Linked DNA regions of Homo sapiens: all the other regions are linked to region 1. Evidence: promoter capture Hi-C in human tissues and cell types (Jung and others, 2019). All regions are on one chromosome and are shown on one strand. Each heading gives the region's core, a stretch centred on a gene start or on the middle of the fragment in contact. The rest is flanking DNA. Distances are from core to core; before and after follow the strand shown.

Region 1 (3,043 bases), core at 244-2,743:
TCCTTCTCTTCTCCCCCCACCCTTTTCATATGGCAGAGACAGAGTTAGGAAGGATTTGTTCAAGCCCTCCTTTTTAACAGGAAGAATAAAGGAGGATGAGAAAAACCCTACACCAAATAACCAGCTAATCAAGGACGGTTAACATTGCTGTTGCTTTGGTAGTTACTCTAAAAACAAACGAACCAACTACTTGGGGTGGGGAATGAGGGGTTGGCATTTAATTTGAGAAAATTTAAAAACGCATCCTGACACAGCCCCAGTGAGAGCATTCATTCCACCATTCACATATCTCGAGGACTGCCCGAGAGAGGTGAGCGTGTGAGTGAGAACAGTGCCCAACCCTGGCAGCCTCTAGGCTAGCGGCCGAGAGAGAAGCGTTTCAGAGGCCGGGGTGGGAGTAGAGCCTGGTACCCCACTTCCTGGGGACCCACAGCGCCTCATTTGCCGGGGCCCAGCGTCCATTCATCCCTCCCAGCGTGGAGGCCGTGCCCCTCCGAGAGTTACCAGCCCCGACCTCGCGCACCCATATTCCATCCCACCGCCCCCGCCTCAAAGCGAAGAGGTGGGCACCTGGGACGCGCGTCCTGCTTTTTCTGCCCGGGCTCTCCCGTCTCCTCCACTTTTGTCCCCGACGTCCCAGAACGGCGGAGCAGGACGCGGCATCAGCCCTGGGAGGGCGCAGCCTGCGAGCCTCCAGCGCGCTCAGGGCGCGGCGAGGATGCTAAAGGACTGCAATGGCCAGGATGCAGATCCCCAGCTCAAATTCCTGAGGAAGACACCCGCCTCCCTTTCCCTCTGTCCCCTCTCCGTCCTCGCTCGGACCCGCTCCTCCCCAGCCCAGACGTCAGTGCTCAGCGCTCCTTCGCTCGCCACTTTGCGAGGAACTTTGGCCGGCTCCCCTGCGCCACCGGGAGCGGGATGTTAATGAGAGAGCGTGGCCTGGCGCCGCCAGCGAGCCGGCTCCCGGGCCGCGATTGGCTGCGGTGGGCGGAAAGATGACGTTATGCAAATGAAGGGGCGGGGCCTCGATGCGCGGGCCCCGCCTCCTCCCTTTGGGGTTAGTGTGCCTGTGTTTAGCTCTGGGGAAAGTCAAACTGGATTCCATAGGGAAAGCCTGCAAATCACTTCTATTTTAGCAAGGAGAAAACAGAATCTCCATCCAGCAGGGTCCACCCCTCTCTCTTTCTCCCTCTCCTCTCTATCTCTCTTTCCCTCCCCCCCTTTCCTCTCTCCCTCTCTCCCCTTCCCCCCACCCTCTCTGGTGTATCTGTCTACGGCAACCAGCGTCCTCCTCATCTACACGCAAAGGAAAGAAACATCTTTGGTTGGGAGAGAAGGAGGAAAAAAAAAGAGAGAGAGAGGAAAAAACTTGCCTGGTTGTGGAAAATGACACTTGAAGTAGCAAAGCCGGCAGCGCGAGTTGAGTCTATTGTTTCTTAAATTGCCATCAGGGTTTTTTTTTTTTTTTTTTTTTTTTTTTTTTTTTTTTCTTCCTGCTTCTTCAAGTGAAGGGTACCTCTACAAAAGGAAACTCCAGCCCCTCCTGTCCTCCACCGGCCTGTGATCATTACAAAAAAAAAAAAAAAAAAGCAAAAAAAAAAAAAAAGCACCCAAACCAAAAATCAACCAACCAAACAACCCCCAACAGCCAAGCATACATCTCTAATTTTATTATTTTGGTCTTTTCGTTGGATTTTCCCTTTCTTCTTTTTTTCGGGTTATCGCTCAGTTTTGAGCAGAGGTTTACATTTTTTAAAAATTTGCTTTCCAGCCCGCCTTGATCTTCTAAGTGCGAGTTCATCGTCTGAGAAAAAAAAAAATCTCTGGTTGGCGTTTTTGTTTCTTTTCTTTTCTTTCTTTTCTTTCCTTTTTTTTTTTTTTTAATTTTTTTCAAGGGGGAGGAGATTTTCCACAAGAAAAGGTTGTTTTCATGTTTGGGATTCAGGAAAGCATCCAACGGAGTGGAAGCAGCATGAAGGAAGAGCCGCTGGGCAGCGGCATGAACGCGGTGCGGACGTGGATGCAGGGCGCCGGGGTGCTGGACGCCAACACGGCGGCGCAGAGGTGGGTACTGCGCGGGGACCGCGGCCGAGGTGAGCCGCGAGCGGGAGAGCCGGGAGGCGGAGGCGGCAGCGGCAGCGGCAGCTGCTGCCGCGGGGCCGGGCGGCGGGGTGAGTCCGCAGCCGCTGCGCTCCGCTCTCCGCCGGGGCTCCGCGCTCTCCAGCCGCTCTGCCTTCGTCGCCTGCGGCCGGAGGACCTGGAGCTGTCTGCGAGGAGCCCACGCTTTGCCAGCACTTTCCCCTGCCTCGTCTGTGACTGTTTTCATTTTGTTTTAACCCAGAAGAGGCGTCTCAACACAGCATGTTGGAGATCTGTGTTTTATGTTTTTATGTGATTGCTCTTTCTTTTCCGGCCGGCTCTCTTTTCTTCTTTCCCTTCGCTCTTCCTTTCCCTCTTTTCTTTTTTCTTTCTTTCTTTCTCTTCCTTCCTTCCTTTTTCTTTCTTTTTTCTTTTTCTTTCTTTTTTTCTTTCCTCCTTTTCTTTTTCCTTTTTCTTTCTCTTTCCTCTTCCTGCCTTTCTTTTTTCTTTCTTCCTTCTTTCCTTTCTCCCCCCTTTATTTTCTTCTCTTCTCCTTCCTCTTCCTTTCTTCCCCTCTTCCCTCCTTCCATTTCTTTCGTTCTTCGTTCTTTCCTGTCTCTCTTCCTGCCTTCTTTTCTTTCTTCTTTCTTTCATTTCCTTCTCTCATTTCTTTCCCCCACCTTCCCTTAATTTCTCCCTCACTCTTTTCCTTCCTCCCTTCCTCTCTCCATTTTCTTTCTCTTCTTTCTTCAGCTTCCCTCCTTTCTCCTCTTTCTCCTTTCCTTACCTCTCTGGCTTTCCTGTTTTTTCGTCCCATTTCTCCCCTGAGTCTTCTCTTATTTCTGCTATCTCGTTCTCCTTCCCTCCCTCTCTGTCTTTCAGTTTTTTCTTAGTCTACCGGTAGAATAGCAACTCCCAACTTTAATTCTGATATCTCCCAAAAGTCTTCTCCAGCCCCTGTCAC
Region 2 (3,113 bases), core at 270-2,769, 1.0 Mb after region 1:
TAAAATCATCCTTTCTCCCCCCATGACTCCTGCTCTGCCATCCCCTAAAACCAAATGTATGCTACTTTTATTTTCTTTTTAACGTTTATTGCTCAAATAAGGGCATTCCTAGCTTCCTCTTTTTATGCGATTCCTTTACTAAGAACAAGCCTAACATATTATCAAAATAGTACATCACCAACATGATTCAATTTTCATGGCCCTTCAAAGTCCTCCTGTCTTAGGCCTCATGCCTTCCACCCACCAACCAAAAAATATATTAAACCCTGGTCTGCCACAGTGGCTGATATTCCCATTATGTACTTTCTTTAGATTCAATGTGTATGTGCCTCTCTATGATGCAAAAGCAGAGTGTGTTACCTGAGATTTCTCAGAAGCTGACTCAGAGAGGAAGGCATGTGGGCAAGAGATTTGTTAAGGAAATGCTCCCGGGAGAAATTGGTAAGGGAGAAGAAGGAAGGGGGGAGAAGCTGAGCAAAGGCTTGATTTCTGGCCTTTTCCCATGGAGAGCAGCTTCAACCCAACTCCACAGAGAACCCAGGAGTGAAAGTTGGGTACCTCAGAGTTTGTCTACATTTGAGGTAAGGAAGCTGGGATTTTATGCCTCTGCACAAGTCAGCTGTTCACCAAGAACAGCCCCTGGTGGATAAACCCATAGGCATTTCCACCTATCTGAGATTTGGGGGTAAGCCACTTCAGTTGCCCAAAAGTGTCCTTTGAAGAGAGTGACTGGAGCAGGTCACAGAAGCAAAAGCAATCAGGGGAAGGAGAGTGAAATGGATCCAAAGGGATCTAAAAGGAGCCTGACAGTGTCTGCCACACACAGGAAGCTTTTCTCAACCTTCTGTGGGTTCATGGAAAATAACCAGGTTAGCCTTAAAAGACAACAGGATCCAGGAGGAAGGGTGCAGATGGCAGGAAAGTGAAATGCCAAGAAGTGTTTAATGTCTGTGTCTCCTACTAGTCACAGGTCTCCTTGAGAGCAAGGATATAGAAATTTTAAAAGCTAACACACCGCTGGAGAAGCAGACAGGCAGAAGGTGATGCCAACACTGCATGGCCTATGCCAGGAGGATTGATCCATTTATTTACTCACTTAACAACCTTTTCTTGAGAACTCGTGAGATGTTGGAAATGCTCTAATGAATAAGATGGTCGAGGTACCTACTCTTATGGAGCTTCCATTCTGGCAGGGGAAACCAAATGTAACCCAATGAACCAACTCAGATAATATAAGATGATAACAAATGCTGGAACAGCAATAAAAAGGAGTAACAAGGTCGGGTGTGGTGACTTATGCCTGCAATCCCTGCATTTTGGGAGGCCGAGGCAGGAGGATCATTTGAAGCCAGAAGTTCAAGACCAGCCTGGGCAACAAAGTGAAAGCCTATGTCTACAAAAAAATTTTTTAATTAGCCAAGCATGGTGGCATGTGCCAGCAGTCCCAGATACTCAGGAGGCTGAGGCAGGAGAATCACTTGAGCCTAGGCTGCAGTGAGCTATGCACACAGTTTAAAAGAAAAAAAAAGTAACAACATAAACAGTGATGGAGTGAGGTGGGGGCTGTTCTAGAAAGAGTGGGCAAGGAAAGGCTTCCCTGGGGGTGTCATTTGAGCAGAATCTTGACTAAAGTAGGGAGCACATCCATCTGAGGGAAGTTATATGGTCTGTTTTTGTTTCTTAAAACATTGCTGCAACTATTATGTGGAGAAGCAACTGCTTATTGAAATGGAATAGAAATAGACCAGTTTGCAGACTTTTGCCCAAAAACAGGGGAGATGGTCATGCCTTAACCGTGGGTAACAGTCATGGAGATGATGAGGCGGAAAAGATATAAAGAAACACACTGCAGAGAGAGGGAAAGGACGTCACCCAGTATACAATCCCAGGAGCTGCATTTGAAGGGGAGGGTTATGGGATCCAAAAACTACTTTAGGGCATGCCTGTCCTCTTCCCTTAACCGGCCTATGTGTCCATTTCAAAAAACAATCAGGTTCATCAAATCAAAGTCAACATCCAAATGCATCAACAGCATAAAGGATCTTGAACTCGGCTAGCCCCCATGCTATCCTTTCCAGAGCCCAAGTCCAAATTCCTCTAGAACAGGGTTCAGCAAGCTGTTCCTGTAAAGGGCCAGACAGTAAATATTTCTGGCTTTGCAGCCCTACGTTCTCTGTGGCAACCACTCAACTTGAAGGAATGTAAATGCAACCATAGGCAATATGTAAATGATGGGTGTGGCTGTGTTCCAGTCAAACTTTTTTATGCACAATTAAATTTTAATTTCATTTTGTTTTCTCATGCCACAAAATATTATTCCTCTGTTACTTTTTTTCAACCATTTAAATTGTCAAAACCATACTCAGCTTATAGGATGTACAAAAACAGGCAATGGGCAGATTTGGCCCACAAGCCATAGTTGGCAGACCCCTGCTCTAGGAGATTGCTGGCCAGGAGAGAAGGATCTCTAGCAGTCCCCTCCCTATTTGTTTTTTCATGTAGCATCACTCCTGTGGGCCCAATATGTCATACTGCATATCTTACATATAAATATAAGCCAGATTTTTTTTACTCCCCTCCATGGAGTTCCGCTGGGGACTGAAGGGTCTAATAGCGAGAGTGAGTATATTTTGCCAACAATTCCCGCTCTCCATAATGGAATTTAATTATTTGGCCTGAAAAGCATTTAAGCCTCACTATACAAAAAGAGTCAAATAAATAAATAATAAAGGGGCACATTTTGATAGCACCTGCCTCAAAGATCTTAAAGGCACTGTCATGCCTGCTTTAATATTTTATGGTGTAGAAATGTGACTGTTACCAGGTCATAAAAATATACTGCTTTTTATACCAGGTCAAAATCGAGGGCCAATAGCCCTGTTTTGTGGCAGGATGCAGAGAGCCAGCCAGGAAGGAGGATAGAGTTACCTTTTTTGCAATCTGAAGGGAGCTATTTAAAGATGATGTACCAGATAAATGCATATTGGATATTTTTATTGTGTTTCTTTTTCCTTCTGCATTTTAAAACAGAAGATTTCAGAGTCTGCCAGCAGCTGGTGCAACATTCATTATTTACCACTGAAAAACCAAGAATCTCAGCCTCTGACCCTCTA
Region 3 (3,039 bases), core at 419-2,918, 1.4 Mb after region 1:
GGGAGGAAATATTCTGAAGAAAGGAGTTAGGTCATGGAATTACCTGGCTCTTCTTTTAAACCAATTGGTTTTCCGCTTGAACACAAAGCTGTACTCATCACTCTGTCCATACGCGATCACAATATCCTCTAGTTCTTCCATCACAGTCTGCGCACATTTGGTCATCAGCTGGAGAGCACGGCTGTCATTGGGTTTTGCAAAGTTGTGCTTCTCAGCAAACCTTCACAGGGGAAAAAGGGAAGAAAGCATGGATGGAAGCCTGTCATTAACAACACGCTCTGTTGCTAGATAACAGAGGCTGTTTGGAGGAAGATAATGTAATAGCACTGTGAACTCAAATGCTCAACTAGCCACAACCTGATCCATTTTCTTAAGAACTTAGTTTTTTTCCTGCCCTGAAATTGAGAAAGCCAGACAGAAATGCTAAGCCTCAACTCTCCTTTCTGTGAAATGGGAATAAAAGAATATTTACCTCATTGGGTTGTCCTGAAGATTAGGGAGAAGATAAAAGTAATCATACCTAGCTCCTAGTAAGTGCTCAATAAATGTTAGTTATAATAATCATTAACAATGCAGCCCTCTTCAAAGATTAAATTCCCATCTTTCTGTTATATTTCTTTCTCCCCCTCCCTCTTTTTCTGAGACAGGGTCTTGCTCTGTCACCCAAGCTGGAGTGCAGTGTCCAATCACCGCTCACTGCAGCCTTGACCTCCCAGGCTCAAGCGATCCTTCCACCTCAGCCTTCCCAGTAGCTGGAACTACATGTGTGCACCACTGCGCCGGGCAAATTAAATTTTTTCTTTTTCTTTCTTTCTCTCTTCCTTCTTTCTCTCTCTCTCTCTCTTTTTTTTTTTTTTTTTTTTTTTTTTTTTGTAGTGGCGGAGTTTCACAAACAACAACCACAGAAAAAACAAAACAAAAACAAAAACTTGGTCTCCAACTCCTGGCCTTAAGTGATCCTCCTGCCTCCCGCGCCCAGCCTTCTCTTTTTTTCTGACTCTCTGTTGAATCTAGTCCATGTGGCCTGTTACTGATAATGAAGCACAGACGTTAAGTATTGCCCACAAGCAAGGCTTACACAGACTTCTGAACAGTCAGCATTCAAAGATATCTAACAGAATAGCTAGGCAATTGGCTTAAGAGCTTAAATATTGTGCATGAGAGTGACTTTTAACAACAGGTCCTTGCTAACAAGTCTCTGTTCACTTAACACGGGCACTCCAAGCCAGATCCTCATCACGGGAGCACATCGCCCATTCAATTACGCTAACAGCCAGCGTTCAGGCACTGTCCTAGCCAACACGCAGGGCGGGGCAATGCTCCATGCTGCGCACTCATTGGCTACCGCGTTACCCTGGTAACCGTGACTGGAGCGGGCGGGAGGACTTGCAAGGGAAGAAGCTGGATTCCCCGGAAGCGCTGGCGCATCGCGACGCCCCGAGTCGAGCTCGCTCACCGATGGAAATTCCGGCCGTCCAGCCGCACTACCACCCAGCAGTGTGCCAGGCAGGTGTCGTCAGCCTCGAAGTCCCTCACGTACTCGAACTTGCTTTTTGCCATGGTCGCCCCCAATCTCAGGTACCGTCTCAGAGTGATGGAAATGGTGGCCAAGGAATCGTGAACCTTAACTTTACAGGCGCCCCACATTCTACACGCGGAAAGGAAAGGGCCAGATAGCCCCGCCCCGGAAGTGTTCTCTTCGCGGCTACTCTAGCCGTAGGGCAGTCATAGTCTCTCTCGCCTCTCCCTGTAGTTCTTAACCTCCCAGGCAAAGAGGATGGAGGTTTAGGTTCCTCCGTTAGCACCTTCCACGCTTGCTTCTTCCTCCTCCCGTCCTGCGGCAAATCAGTCTCACGAGGTTTTTAAAAATTATTTTTTATCTGCTGGTCTTGACTTACTGGCAAAAGCAATCAGTGTCCCCGTTAGTGCCCAGATCAAAATCATACCCCAACCTAAAAAAAAAAAAAAAAAAAAAAATTCTTTTTCTGGTGTTTGAAGGTGTAGCTGTGATGTTTCCCCTTTTCTTAGTGGCATTTATTAACTTGTAGAAAATCTGGAATACACCAAAACTATAGTTAAGAAAATTAACACTTTGTTTCTCCGTCTTTCCCATCAAAGCATTGTGGATGGTTCCTTTCAGTCTTTTTTCTTTTTGTGTATGTAGGTTTACACAGGGAATGCACAAGATTGGAATTATTCGCCTATACAATGTTTATATATTTTTCCACTCAGCTTGAGCATTTGCCAGTATCATCAATTATTCCAAAGTGTGATTTTTAAAAGAAAAATGGACTCAATATTCCAACATATGGGTATACTAAATTGATTTATTCAACTTTTTCACCATTAAATAATCACAGAACCAGTGTTTGATATCTTGTTGCTGGTGGATAATAGTAAAAATAAAATCCTAATATTTGTGTCATACTTTGTGATTTACAAAGCTCTTTCAAATTCATTACCTACTTACTTACTTTTTTTTTTTTTCCATCCTCAAGAAAGATATTCAGGCCAGGCACGGTGGCTGACGCCTGTAATCCCAGCACTTTGGGAGGCAGAGGCAGGAGGATTGCTTGAGTTCAGGAGATTCATACCAGCCTTGGCAACGTAGCAAGACCCCTGTTCCTACAAAAAAGAAAAAAAATTATCCAGGCTTAGTAGCCCATGCCCGTAGTCCTAGCTATGGGAGGATGAGGTGGGAAGATACTTGAGGCCAGGAGTTCGAGACTGCAGTGACCCATCATTAGCCACTGCACTCCAGCCTTGGTGACAGAGCAAGAATCTGTCTCTAAAGAAAAAGAAAAATATTCAAACAATATAAATCCTTTTATATGTAGCAAAAAGTCTCTCACTGACTCCTAACAACATACTTTAGGCAGTTACTGTTACCAGTTTTTTGTGTATCCATACAGGGATCTATATCAGTATGTGTGTATATCCTCATAATAGTACCACAAATGGTAGTCATCACTCCTTTGATGCTCAGAGTAACATCAGAGGGATGCAAAAGAGGAACTGGGATTTCACCTTTACAAAGGG

The links. Contacts are between HindIII fragments. The study calls those that stand out against the background at their distance.
Region 2: a contact is called between a fragment that was not itself captured here and the fragment with the promoter of EBF1 in region 1, in 1 of the 25 tissues and cell types used here (lymphoblastoid cells).
Region 3: a contact is called between the fragment with the promoter of THG1L here and the fragment with the promoter of EBF1 in region 1, in 1 of the 25 tissues and cell types used here (thymus).

Annotation. Positions count from the first base shown.
Region 1 is chr5:159,098,366-159,101,408 of GRCh38, reverse strand. EBF1 (EBF transcription factor 1) reads left to right here and starts at 1,493. Exons shown (of 16, transcript NM_024007.5): 1 at 1,493-2,064. The coding sequence starts at 1,931. LINC02202 (long intergenic non-protein coding RNA 2202) reads right to left here and starts at 926. Exons shown (of 3, transcript NR_109890.1): 1 at 571-926. RefSeq lists enhancers at 1-584, 585-1,213, 2,963-3,043 and a silencer at 2,031-2,320. The HindIII fragment of the contact is 15,907 bases long and covers 1-3,043 here.
Region 2 is chr5:158,055,681-158,058,793 of GRCh38, reverse strand. No RefSeq gene overlaps it. Among named protein-coding and RNA genes, the nearest start is that of CLINT1, 200 kb to the right of the region's middle. The HindIII fragment of the contact is 5,538 bases long and covers 1-3,113 here.
Region 3 is chr5:157,730,049-157,733,087 of GRCh38, reverse strand. It overlaps THG1L (tRNA-histidine guanylyltransferase 1 like), which reads right to left and starts at 1,668. Exons shown (of 6, transcript NM_017872.5): 1 at 1,457-1,668; 2 at 44-220. The coding sequence starts at 1,647. RefSeq lists an enhancer at 1,392-1,751. The HindIII fragment of the contact is 18,862 bases long and covers 1-3,039 here.